Linked DNA regions of Homo sapiens: region 2 is linked to region 1. The links are contacts of gene promoters, found by promoter capture Hi-C in human tissues and cell types (Jung and others, 2019). All regions are on one chromosome and are shown on one strand. The core of a region is centred on a gene start or on the middle of the fragment in contact, and the rest is flanking DNA. Distances in the headings are between cores, read along the strand shown. Region 1 holds the start of FAIM2 (Fas apoptotic inhibitory molecule 2). Region 2 overlaps LETMD1 (LETM1 domain containing 1).

Region 1 (6,540 bases), core at 2,563-5,062:
CTCCCCTGGGGAGCCCCTTACTGTTTCTGACTCCCTTGAGGCACTATTCTCCCAGCCCTCAGCCACCCCAGCACTGCCTGTCCCCTCCTGCCCGGGGGTGAGTCTGAAGGGATCTCATTCTTCTTGAAGAATGGCTTCTACCAAATGTGTCAACAGGGACAGAGACCACAGACATGACAAATGAATGAACAAATGAGTAACTGTGGAACTGAGCTGCCTTATGTGGTGGAAATTATTTCATTAAACAATATTTGTGGAACCCTTAAGGCTAACACTAATAGCTAACACCAAGAGCTTATTGTGTGCTTATAGTCATCAAACATGCATAGAGCATGTGTTAGATGCCTGGTTCTGTTCTAAGTGCCTTACAAATCCTAACTCTCCTCATTCTCACAACTTTCACAACTCATCTCTCACAAGCTCTCATACAGCTTTTAAATAGAGGAGCCGGGATCTGGAGCAAAGCTGCTTGACTGTGTAGCCTTGGCTTTTGACTACCACACCTAACTATCACCAGATCCCAGAGGAATGTTACACGAATGTTTAATATTTGAGTAATGTCAGCTGGGCACGGTGGCTCATGCCTGTAATCCCAGCACTTTGGGCGGCTGAGGCGGGCAGATCACCTGAGGTCAGGAGTTCGAGACCAGCCTGGCCAACGTGGTGAAATTCTGTCTCTACCAAAAATAGGAAAAGTAGCCAGGCGTGGTGGTGTGCGCCTGTAGTCCCAGCTACTCAGGAAGCTGAGGCAGGAGAATCGCTTGAACCTGGGAGGCGGAGGTTGCAGTGAGCTGAGATCGTGCCACTGCACTCCAGCCTGGGCAACAAGAGCAAAACTACACCTCAAAACAAAAATTTTTTTGAGTAATATCCAAAGACCACCTCATGGGAACATATACCCTAGTTACTTGGGAGGCTGAGGCAGGAGGATGCTTGAGCCCAGAAATTCAGACTGTAACAAGCCATGATCATACCACTGCACTCCAGCTTAGGCAACACAGCGAGACCCTGTCTCAAAAAAAAGTTGGGGGGACATATACACAATGTCAAGGTAATAGAGTCCAACATCTGAGAAACATCATAGCACTGACAATGTCAACATGTCTGAGGAATATAAGGATTTTGTATAATGCTGTACTTTACTCAACCAAATACTTATCAACCCACCACATCCATGTCAGTCACTATTTTAACCCACAGGTGTAAAGCAATGACACAACACCCCCAAACTCCTCCTCTTCTGTAGCTGACGTTCTAATGGGAGAGAGAGAGAGAACAAAACAAAACAAAACAAAACATGTCAGAGGTGACAATTGACATAGAAAACATAAAGCTTAATCAGAAAAAAGGGACTGTCCAATTTGCTGGGTGGGGGTATGCGGGTGGCACTGCTACTTTGTATAAGATCAGGAAGACCACCCCTGAGATAATGTCTGAGCAGAGTAGTGAAGTTAGTGAGGGAGGGAGCCACGCAATGATCTGTAGAATTTCCAAACAAGACACAGCCAGTGCAAAGGGCCTCAGCTAAGCGCATGCTCAGCCCAGTCTAAGGAATGGCCAAGAGGCCTGTGTGGCTGGAGCAGAGTGAATGCGAGAGAAGGAACAGGAGTGATTCACAAACATGAAAGTGCTAAGGCTGATGAAAGTCAGGCTCTGCGTAGTGCCATGTCTGGGAAATATTACTAGCTACAATTGATGGAGTGCATTCCACACACCTGGCACTGCATTCAGTCCAGCTCACACCAAAACTGCTACAGGAGCTTAGAGTGTAACAGGGAGTCAGTCAAAGAAACTTCACAGCGCCACGTGACAGGCGTTACATCAGGGTGCTAGGGAACTACAGAAGAGGAGCATCTAACCCCAACTAGGGGGGGAAGGAGGCTTCCTGGAGGAGGTGGCATTCAAGCTGTCAAGCAGGAGAAGGAAAACACTTCCAGGATGCAGATGCAGAGAAGGAGGGAAGGCCAGAACCTGGACCAGCTGGTCAGAGCTCCAGGTGCAGTGCTGGGGACCAGGGCACAGCTTGCTGGAAGAAGAGCTCGGGTTTGTAGGGTTGAGAGAGCCTCTGGACACGGAGGCCCAGGCTTAAGTGTGTTTGTGCAAAATTGGTGGTTATGGAGTGGGGGACAAAGGGCAAAAAGGGGTGGGATAAAGACTTTGATAATTAGGCCAGGCACGGTGGCTCACACCTGTAATCCCAGCACTTTGGGAGGCTGAGGAGGGTGGATCACTTGAGGTCAGGAGTTGGAGACCAGCCTGGCCAACATGGTGAAACCCTGTCTCTACTAAAAATACAAAATTAGCCGGGCGTGGTGGTGCGCGCCTGTAATCCCAGCTACTCAGGAGGCTGAGGCAGGAGAATCACTTGAACCCGGAAGACAGAGGTTGCAGTGAGCCAAGATTGTGCCACTGCACTCCAGCCTGAGCAACAGAACAAGATTTTCTCTGTAAAAAAAAAAAAAAAAAAAAAAAAAAAGACTTTGATAATTTGTCTGCCTACCTGGGCCCTGCTTTCTCAGGGACTTTAGGTGGGTCCCTGGGCAGTGAGAGGGAAGCAGAAGGTAAGTGGCCACCCCCACCTGTCCCAGGTCTTAGTTTCTCGTCCCATCCTAGCAGGTTCAGATACTTCTTTTAGGCAGATTTGTGGGTGCTCGCTCTGGGGCAGCCCAGGACATTCTGGTAGGAGACTCCTCAGTTAATAATACCTCACATACTTCCAGCACTTCTTGGTCTTTTATGTGCTTTTACGGCCATAACCTGTGCGTCTGACAGTCAATCTAGGATGGACAGAGCTCTGTTCTAAGCCTCTTTTTCGTAGGAGCTGCAGCTCAGAGAGGTTAAGGGCCTTGCCAAGGCCACGCGGCCAGTGGGTGACTAAATTGGGACTTGATCCCAGCTCTTGAGATTGCAAACCCCATAGTGACACTGCAGCAGCTACAGAAAACGGGGCCTGATGATGGCTGGGTCCCAGTGACACGTCTGGGGAAGCGGGGAGAACGAGCTCTGGCATGGGAGGAATGGAAAAGGGGGGAAGATGGAGACGGGGTGATGGAAGCTAAGCGTGGAGGCAGGAAGAGAGCTCTGGCAGGGGTTGTAGAGGCTTTGAGACAGAACTAGCGGTGTCTCCAGAAAGACCCCGTGAAATGTCCCAGCAGGGCTGAAAGAAACAGAAGAGGTGTCCTCCCACCCCATGTCTCTGTGAACCAAGGCAGGGAGGGACCTACTGTGTGCATTTCACAGGCGAGAAAAAGGAGCAAGGATAGGTGGCTATTGGCTTGCCCCAGGCCCACAGGAGCGCAGGGCCCAGGGGCCCTGTTAGAAGCGGGCAGCACAGGCGAGACTTCCAGACCTTCCCCTCTACCAGGGATGATGAAATAGATGATGAGAGGGGAGGTGGAGATGGAGACAGAAATCAGGGCCGCATCCAAAGAGGGAGGAGGAAAAGGCAGAGGCGCAGCTGGAGCTGCAGAGAGGTGCAGAGACAGTGGAGATGAGGCCCTGATGCCCGGCTCTGGTTTCACGCGGGCAGCGTCAGCTGGTCGGTGTCACGGAGTTCCCGCGTCCTCCGCCCGCTCAGCCCCCGCGGACCCATCCACTGGGGTTGCTCCGCAGCGCGACTCTCTCTCATCCCGGGGGAGGGCTAAGGGCGGCGGTGGGGGGCGGGGTGGGGGGGAAGCGGCGGGAGGGGGCGGTGCGCCGCCGCCTTACCCCGGGCTCGCGAATCCGCAGCGTCCTCCGCAGCATCTTCCCAGGCCCGGCCCTCTCCTCCCCCCGCGCCGATGGTACGCGCCGGCTCGCCTGGCCCGGCTGCAGTGGATGTTGCTAGAACCCACGCGGAGGAAGGAAGAGACGCAGGCAGGCTGCGGTTACCCAAGCGGCCACCCGGGCCTCAGGGACCCCTTCCCCGAGAGACGGCACCATGACCCAGGGAAAGGTACCGGCATCTCCCCAGCCTGCACCATCCTCCATCCTCCGGCTCCCGGCTCCCTGTCATCCTCAGCAAGCCCTCTGGACCACGAAAGCATCCTCCCCTGGCCCTAGTTTGAAGGTCCTCCGTGGTCCTTGCTGAAGTCAGAGGACCGAAAGGCCGGTGTCAAGGAATGGACCGAGGCCTCTTCCTGCCCGCAGGCGCGCCTCTCCTCCCCTGTCACCCTGCCACCCCTGCTTTGGCATTACAGCATTACAAGGCTCCTCACAGATACCCAGGCCCCCCGTGAGGAGTCAGCCCGGGCGTCTGGTGTGACTGTATGTGTGTGCATGGGTATGTGTGTGCCAGGGTGAGCCCTGAGGGGCAGTGCCTATCGGGCAACCCCCTCTGGCCCAACCCTCCAGTCCCAAACCCAACCACTTTATGCTCATCTTTCCCACCCTCCACGGAAACAACCCCCACCCTACTCCCTGCCATTGTTCCACATCTGGGCGTCTTGGCTCCATCCCTGTGCTTGGGGCTTGCTATGACAACTCTGCATCAAGATGCTCTAATTGTTGTTTTGGTTTTGGCCAGGCATGGATGGGTCCGGATGAAGCATCTCTTCTCCAGTTTTAGGCCTGAATTGTAGGGGAGGGGCTGGGGCAGAGACTCGGCTGGCCTAGTAGGCTTATGTAACATCAATAGCCTGTGGAATTATACAACCACTAGGGCCTGGGGCTAAGGGGGAGGGTACTCGGGCCCTCTGTTTGGGTTGCTAAGGATTGGGCAGAGAAAACAGGGGAAGGACCTCCCCTACACTCCCCCTTCTTCTCTTTGAGAGGAGCTTCAGAGCCAATGACATCCTTCCCTGGACCCTCAGACCCTCCTCTCCCTGTATGCAAGCTCTTTGGGCCTCAAATGATGTCACTGGGTGATACCACCTCCCGCCATTGGTCACACCTCACTTGGGAGTGCCGTATGTGTGTCGGGGGCCTGGGCATTAGGGTCCAGGAGGCTCTGGGGGGCGGAGTGGCAGGGTGGAGGCTGAACTCGATTTAGGTGGACATGATCCTTCAGATCCGGGTGATGAGGGGGGCTGGGGAGTGGGAGGCAGTGGGAGGCCTGGGGAGTGTTCAGTTCCGTAAACATGGAGAACTCACCCCTTCTGCTGAGTCTCCTTCCACCTCCACCCTGCCTCCACCAGGCCCTTTAGTGGCGCTGTTCCCTTCCTGGTGTGAGGGGGACCTCTGCCTCCTCTGCCCCTTGTCCCCAGCTCACGCACAGGCTTGCTGGGGGATGGAGAAGACCGCTCCAGTTCAGTGGTCCTTGGGCCTGGATGGAACCAGAAGTCTTCTGGTGCGTGCCTGTCTCCAGGCTGCCTCAGCCAGATGCTCCCTGCAAAGAAGGAAGTCCGCAGTCTTCCTCAGTGGCCCTTTAGGTCTAACACAGTCTTCTGGGAACCAGACCTAAATCCCATTTTCTGAGAGCCGGGCTTTTTGTTGCTGTTTCAATTTCACACCACCCCCTCCACCCCAGTCTTTCCTTCTCTGGCTGCCTCATTCAGGCCTTCCCAGCTCAAATCCTCTCACCAAAGCTAAACATGTCCACGGGTGGGGGGCAGGGGACACATCTGAGTGTAAATGGACTCGCATTTCCAACCTGCCATGGGGACGTTTCCCTTTGAGCCTCAGTTTCCTCATCTGTTCAGTGACGGAAGAGACTCAACTGGATGTCTTCTGAGGCCCCTTCCACTGGGTCACTCTGTGAGTCTGTTCTGGTTTAGGGGAGAGGCTGAGATTCCTACAGGATGAGGCCAGAACAGACCCTTAGCCTGGATCCTCTTGCCCTTCCTCCACCCTGAAGGCCCTTCTTCTTTTCTGTTTTCTCCCTCTCCTCTTCCCTTTCTGTTGCCCTTCTCTCTCCCATCTCCATTCTCCTTGCATCACTTCCAGCGCAACAGAAGGATCAATCCCAGTGGATGATGCCTAGGCCCTGCCTCTCAGTGGGCCACATGCAGCTCTGTGACCTTGGATGAATCGCTCTTCCTCTGTGATCCTCATTCTCCTCATTTTAAAGCAGGGGTCAAAATGCAGCTAGCAAGTCTCAGGAAGATTAAATGACATAACCTTTTATTTGTAACAATCTACTATGTGCCAGGCTCTTTTCTGGAACCATAGAGACCCTGCCCCTACCCCAGGGACAATGACAGTGACAACCAATGGTGGACACTCCTAAGAATTTTCTCTTTCCTCTGTTCCTATCCCAGCTCCACCATGTGCCCCAGCTAGCTCTGACCCCTCTGGAGCTTAGTTCTCTTGTCTATAAAATAGAGACATTCTTGTCTGCATTCCTGGCTTCCAAGTGCAGGTAAGGAAGGAACCATGAAAGTTCCAGGAATTGAAGAGTTGGTGAGGAGGAGGAGTTGGAAGGCTCCCTTTCCCTGGTGACTATCTCTCTCTCTGACTCTACTCCATAGCTCTCCGTGGCTAACAAGGCCCCTGGGACCGAGGGGCAGCAGCAGGTGCATGGCGAGAAGAAGGAGGCTCCAGCAGTGCCCTCAGCCCCACCCTCCTATGAGGAAGCCACCTCTGGGGAGGGGATGAAGGCAGGGGCCTTCCCCCCAGCCCCCA
Region 2 (6,540 bases), core at 2,540-5,039, 1.2 Mb before region 1:
TCCTTTAAATAAGTTACAATCTCACCGGGCACGGTGGCTCGTGCCTGTAATCCCAGCACTTTGGGAGGCCGAGGTAGGCGGATCACGAGGTCAGGAGTTGGAGACCAGCCTGGCCAATATGGTGAAACACCATCTCTACTAAAAAATACAAAAATTAGCCAGGCGTGGTGGCATGCACCTGCAGTCCCAGCTACTCGGGAGGCTGAGGCAGGAGAATCACTGGAACCTGGGAGGCGGAGGTTGCAGTGAGCCAAGATCATGCCACTGCACTCCAGCCTGGGCAACAGAGCGAGACTCTGTCTCAAAAAAAAAAAAAAAAGTTACAATCTCATTCCCACATGAAGCCTTTCCTCATGGCAATTTGAAAACTAGTGATGGACAAGATGACAAAAGCAAAGAGTCCTATATAAGCTAAAATAGTAGGTCTAAACTGCAGTATCCTTGCTTTCTGAAGTGCCAGAAGAAAAGAAATACAAACCAAAATTTCTGTGGGCAATTCCTTCCCCCTAGCTAAGTTTCTTGAGAAAAAAGACACAGAAATGAGGTGAGGAGCTGGGCGCAGTGGCTCATGCCTGTAATCCCAACACTTTGAAAGGCCAAGGCGGGAGGATCACTTGAGCCCAGGAGTTCAAGACCAGCCTGGGCAACATAGTGAGACCCTGTCTCTACAAAAATAAAAAATAATTTTATTTTATTTTTTGGGTTTTTTTTGAGACAGAGTCTCACTCTATCACCCAGGCTGGAGTGCAGTGGTGCGATCTTGGCTCACTGCAATCCACCTCCTGGGTTCAAGCAATTCTCATGTCTCAGCCTCCCAAGTACCTGGGATTACAGGCATGTGCCACCACTCCTGGCTAATTAAAAAATAATTTTTAAAAAGGCCGGGCACAGTGGTTCACGGCTGTATTCCCAGCACTTTAGGAGGCCAAGATGGGAGGATTGCTTGAGGCCAGGAGTTCAAGACCAGCTTGGTTAAAATAGTGAGACTGAAAAATAAATAAATATGCTGGGTGCGGTAGCTCACACCTGTAGTCTCGGCACTTTGGGTTGATGGATCTCTTGAGGCCAGGGGTTTGAGATCAGCCTGGCAAACATGGTGAAACCATCTCTACTAAAAATACAAAAAATTAGCTGGGCGTGGTGGTGCACACCTGTAATCCAGCTACTTGGGAGGCTGAGGTAGGAGGATCACTTGAACCGGGAGGCAGAGGTTGCAGTGAGCCAAGACTGTGCCACTGTACTCTAGCCTGGGCAACAGAATGAGACTCTGTCTCAAAATAAATAAATAAATAAAAATAAATCATAAATAAATAAATGAAGTGAGAGAATAAAGAAGCTGGGTTCTATAAACAAACAAGACAAGGAGCCCCTGTAAACCTCCGGCCTGCCATAGGCTCAAAAGCACACCAAGGGTTGAGGGTTGATGTTGCAATCAAGCTCTTACCGATTTTACTTCCTGAGCAGTCAGCTGGCCAATCCCCAGCTTTGCCAAAGCCTTGTCCAGTTGGTGAATCACAGTTGTATGAGTCTTCAAACGATGTCTCAACAAGGGAGGAGGCAGGTAAGATGTGAGAAGCATGGCCCGGCTCAAGGCTTTCTGTAACACAACCACATAGGAGGGGAAAGGCAAATAGTATGAGCTCAAGCAAACACCTGAAACATGGTGATGCTATGGAAAAGAGAAGCCCTCAAAGTGCTCACCACGTGCAAAGCCTGGAGTTGGTTCATGCCCAGAGGATGGTTAGAGAAACACTCTCTCAGAGCCAAGATATCATGTATTGCTGGGTGGGTACCACGCTGTATCTTGGAAGAGGTAAGAGATTTGTAGATGTTAGGAAAGTCCTGACTACTCCTCTTACCTAGTTTAGTGCACACTGAATCTAACAAGATTCCACATTTGTAGGAAGGGTTAACTGCAGGAATACCTTGGTGCACAGATCTGTCAGACGCCACCGGAGTCCTGCATCAGAAATGAGAGGGATGACCTTTTCTAAATAACTAATAATTTCTGGGTGGGACTGCTTCCGGAAAGCATGATAGATATCTAAGAAATCAGTTTGTTGTTTTGGGGTCCAGAAATGCCTGATCAGTAGTTGCCTGGGAAACAGGTACCTGAAAGGAGAAAGAATCACAAACTCACTTGCTGAAACTGGCTTCTTTCAGAGGAAGCCAAAGAAAGCATTTGGTAGACATGAATACTAGGAAGAAGAGATGGAGACACTATTTCCCTACCTCAGTGTTCTTTTTCTTTTTCAGTTTTTTTTTTTTTTTTTTTTTTTTTAAGAGACAGGGTCCCCTCTCTCACCCAGGCTGGAGTACAGTGGCAAGATCACAGCTCACTGCAGCCTCGACCTCCTAGGCTCAAGCAATCCTCCCACCACAGCCTACTGAGTAGCTGGGACTACAGGCACAGGCCACTATGCCTGGCTAAGTTTTTAATTTTTTTGCAGAGACGGGTCTTGCTATATTGCCCAGGGTGGTCTCAAACTCCTGGTCTCAAGCAATCTTCCTGCTTCAGTCTCCCCAAGTGCTGGGATTACTGGTGAGAGCCACTACAGTCAGCCCTTTCTCTTAAGTGACTCTCAGACCAAAGTTTATAAGACACACTGAAGCACAATTTCAAGCACCATTACTGAAATGGGATGTGAAAGGAAGGACTAGCAGAATAGCCTGCCACGCAGCAATCAGATATAATGACTCATTTTGAACTAAAGCATGTGAAGAGCATGCTTTGGAGAGAGTTGCAGCCTGACCAGGACACTATATGTGATGTTGACAATCTAACTATAGCACAGTCCTTATGTGGACCCAGTATGTAAAAGGCAACTGATTTGTTGTTTTTTTTTTGAGACAGAGTCTCGCTCTGTCACCCAAGCTGGACTGCAGTGGCGCGATCTCGGCTCACTGCAACCTCTGCCTCCTGGGTTCATGCGATTCTACTGCCTCAGCCTCCCAAGTAGCTGGGATTACAGGCACCCGCCACCACGCCTAGCTAGTATTTTGTATTTTTAGTAGAGACAGGGTTTCACTGTGTTAGCCAGGATGGTCTCAATCTCCTGACCTTGTGATCTGCCCGCCTCGGCCTCCCAAAGTGCTGGGATTACAGGCGTGAGCCACTGCACCTGGCCACGATTTGTTTTTTAATTTATTTATCTACGTGTTTGGTGGTTTTAAAACATGACCTCAAATTCTCTGGCACTTGTCTCATGGAGAGCTGAGGTCTACATCCTGCCCTTTTTTCATTCTAGGTGACTGATTCAATCAATAGGACAGAGCAGCAGTGACTCTATGTGACCTTCAAGACAAGGTTATAAAGTCATGTAGATTCTTACTAGAACCCCTCACTCTTGGAGCCCTGAGCTCCCAAGTTAGAAGTCCCACTATCTTGAGGCTGCCATACTGAAGAAGCCACATCTGGGCACTCTGGTTGACAGTTCTAGCCGTGTAGCCATCCCTGCCAGGGCACCAGACATAAGAGTGATATTGGACTTTCCAGACTAGTCCATTCAGCAGCTAAATATCACTAAGGGACCTCTGTCAACCCTATATGGAAGAGAGAAATCAACTGCCCACCTGAGCACTGCCCTAATTCTTGAGCTACAAAATCATGAAAATGATTTATACGATTGTTTTATGCTATTAAGCTTTGAAGTTATTTGTTATACAGCAATAGATAATGAATGACATGCAAGATCACAGTTAAGAAATGTCATTTTTGGATATGAAGTAATAAAAATGTTATCAGAATACGAAATGTACTTTTCCTAAAGAAATTAGTCTAAAAGTACTCTCTCTCGGGGAGAGAGCCTCTAGGGATGATGGAGAAGGTCACTATCTTATTTCACATGACTCAGGGCAGCTAAGAGATAGGGAGAGTCTAGGCCACCTACACTTATAGCTGTGATGTGTCACAGTAACCAAGGTCTTCCTAAGTGGTTTTTATGAACCTTGGAATAATGAGAAGATTGGAGCAGAAGTTTGATAACCTCTGCCTATCTTCTGAAATGAGTGCTGTTTAAAGTAATTCTTAATTTAAAAAAATTGATACATCTTCAAGATGTTGGGGAGATGGAAGTCTGTACTCACATTAGCAAGAAGACCAGGTAGTTGGCAAAAGGTGGAATGGAAATAATACCTAGGAAAAGACACTTGGTGACGTCTTGGCGGAACTAAGCAGAAATAAACACAGATGCAGTTTTAACCCAAATAAGTTGTTAATACAATAGACAATCCATCCACCCCACTGTACAGTAAACTTCTATTACAGCCCAGAAAAAGGACCAAATTTCTTTCTTTTTCTTTTTGAGATGGAGTCTTGCTCTGTCACCTAGGCTGGAGTGCAGTGGTGCAATCCTAGCTCACTGCAACCTCTGCCTCCTGGGTTCAAGTGATCCTCCTGCCTCAGCCACCCGAGTAGCTGGGATTATTGGCATAAGCCGCCACTCTAGGCTAACTTTTGTATTTTTAGTCGAGACAGGGTTTCACCATGTTGGACAAGCTGGTATCAATCTCCTGACCTCCAGTGATCTGCCCGCCTTGGCTTCCCAAAGTGCTAGGATTACAGGCATGAGCACTGCATGTGGTCCCCAAGTTTATTTCTATTTACTTCTGGATGGTTAGTTCCTTGAGGACAAAACCTCTGACTTATTTACTTTTGTATCCCAAATAATGTCTAGTACAGAGCCTGACATTATACCAAATCCTTCAGTGAACTCTTCCTGATCTGCGGAATGGGTCCTAGATTCTTACTCTCAGCTTCAAAACGACCCATCAAGTCACCACCAAATACTACTTTCATGCTGCCCTTTGGATCCTTGCAGACTTTTTTTTTTTTGAGACAGAGTTTTGCTCTTATCACCCAGGCTGGAGTGCAGTGGCGCGATCTTCACTCACTGCAACCTCCGCCTCCCAGGTTCAAGCAATTCTCCTGCCTCAGCCTCCCGAGTAGCTGGGACTAGGACTACAGGCGCCTGCCATCATGCCCAGCTAATTTTTGAATTTTTAGTAGAGATGGGGTTTCACCATGTTGGCCAGGCTGGTCTCAAGCTCCTGACCTCAGGTGATCCGCCCACCTCAGTCTCCCAAAATGCTGAGATTATAGGCGAGAGCCACTGTGCCTGGCTGCCCTTGCAGACTTCTATTTTCATTTTATTATTATTTTTTTTTGAGATGGAGTCTTGCCCTGTCACCCAGGCTGGAGTGCAATGGCATGATTTTGGCTCACTGCAACCTCTGCCTCCCGGGTTCAAACGATTCTCCTGCCTCAGCCTCCCGAGTAGCTGGGATTACAGGCGCCCGCCACCACACTCAGCTAATTTTTGTATTTTCAGTAGAGATGGGGTTTGACCTTGTGGGCCAGGCTGGTCTCGAATTCCTGACTTCGTGATCTGCCTGCCTCGGCTTCCCAAAGTGCTGGGATTACAGGCGTGAGCCACCGCGCCCAGCCCCCTTGCAGACTTTTGTTATGTTCAGAAACTAATTAGATTTTAGTATTTACAACTTTCATTCAGAAAGTGTGCCAGAAATTCTATGGAGCTCTTGCTATGGAGGGCTACAACTCTGGATGAACCCAATTCTTACAAATAATCTGATGCCTCATTCAGTTCAATATTTTGTTCTCACGGCAAAGGGCAAAAGCTTGATCAATGGTGAACAACAAATGAAAGAAAAAACCTTGAGATCTTGATTAAATGTAATTACCTCACCATGAACTTCTGGATATCTGCCCCTGGCCCATACCTGTCTCAAATGCTCCATCTCCCGGTATGGAAGTTGATGAAACTTTATATTGTGCTTCCACATATTTGTCTTTATTCTTCTAGCCTTTTTGGCATCAGCCCATAACATCTGCAATCCTGCCTCATTAAAGTAGAGGACAGAGTGTGATGTTATCCCAGTTTAAATCTTAACCACAGCTTCCTACTCCATGTTCAATCACATGCAAACACTCTCACCCCTCCCCAACGATACTCAAAGCTTTAAACTAGGTAACTTGAAACTCCTGAGGTCAACTCGAATCTCTTTTCTCAACATTTTTTCCCCTAGCACATCGCCTCTCTTCTAGCTACATTTGGCTTCTGTAATCTGCTATGGAATGGTCTCCCTCTTCTGTTTCACTGGTCACTCCTTTTTAAAAATCAAGCTCCCTAACTTCAGAAAGTCTTGCTAAATTAACCCTATGTATTCCCCAGCCAGATATTAATTTAATCTCCTTTCTGGAACTTTTTTTTTCTTTTTTTTGAGATGGAATCTCACTTTGTTGCCCAGGCTGGAGTGCAGTGGTGCGATTTCGGCTGACTGCAACCTCCACCTCCCAGGTTTATATAATTCTCCCACCTCAGAATCCCAAGTAGCTAGGATTACAGGCGTGTGCCACCATGCCTGGCTAATTTTTGCATTTTTAGTAGAGATGGGGTTTCACCATGTGGACAGGCTCGTCTTTAACTCCTGACCTCAAGCAATCCACCTGCCTCGGCCTCCCAAAGTGCTGGGATTACAGGCATGAGTCACTGCGCCCGGCCTGGAACACTTATTTTTGTT

What was found. Contacts are between HindIII fragments. The study calls those that stand out against the background at their distance.
Region 2: a fragment that was not itself captured here is called in contact with the fragment with the promoter of FAIM2 in region 1 in 1 of the 25 tissues and cell types used here (liver).

Annotation. Positions count from the first base shown.
Region 1 is chr12:49,901,172-49,907,711 of GRCh38, reverse strand. FAIM2 (Fas apoptotic inhibitory molecule 2) reads left to right here and starts at 3,812. Exons shown (of 12, transcript NM_012306.4): 1 at 3,812-3,934; 2 at 6,387-6,540. The coding sequence starts at 3,920. The HindIII fragment of the contact is 14,088 bases long and covers 620-6,540 here.
Region 2 is chr12:51,051,407-51,057,946 of GRCh38, reverse strand. It overlaps LETMD1 (LETM1 domain containing 1), which reads right to left. Exons shown (of 9, transcript NM_015416.5): 3 at 5,740-5,855; 4 at 4,087-4,169; 5 at 1,926-2,112; 6 at 1,702-1,803; 7 at 1,445-1,597. Among named protein-coding and RNA genes, the nearest start is that of LETMD1, 6.4 kb to the right of the region's middle. The HindIII fragment of the contact is 7,302 bases long and covers 139-6,540 here.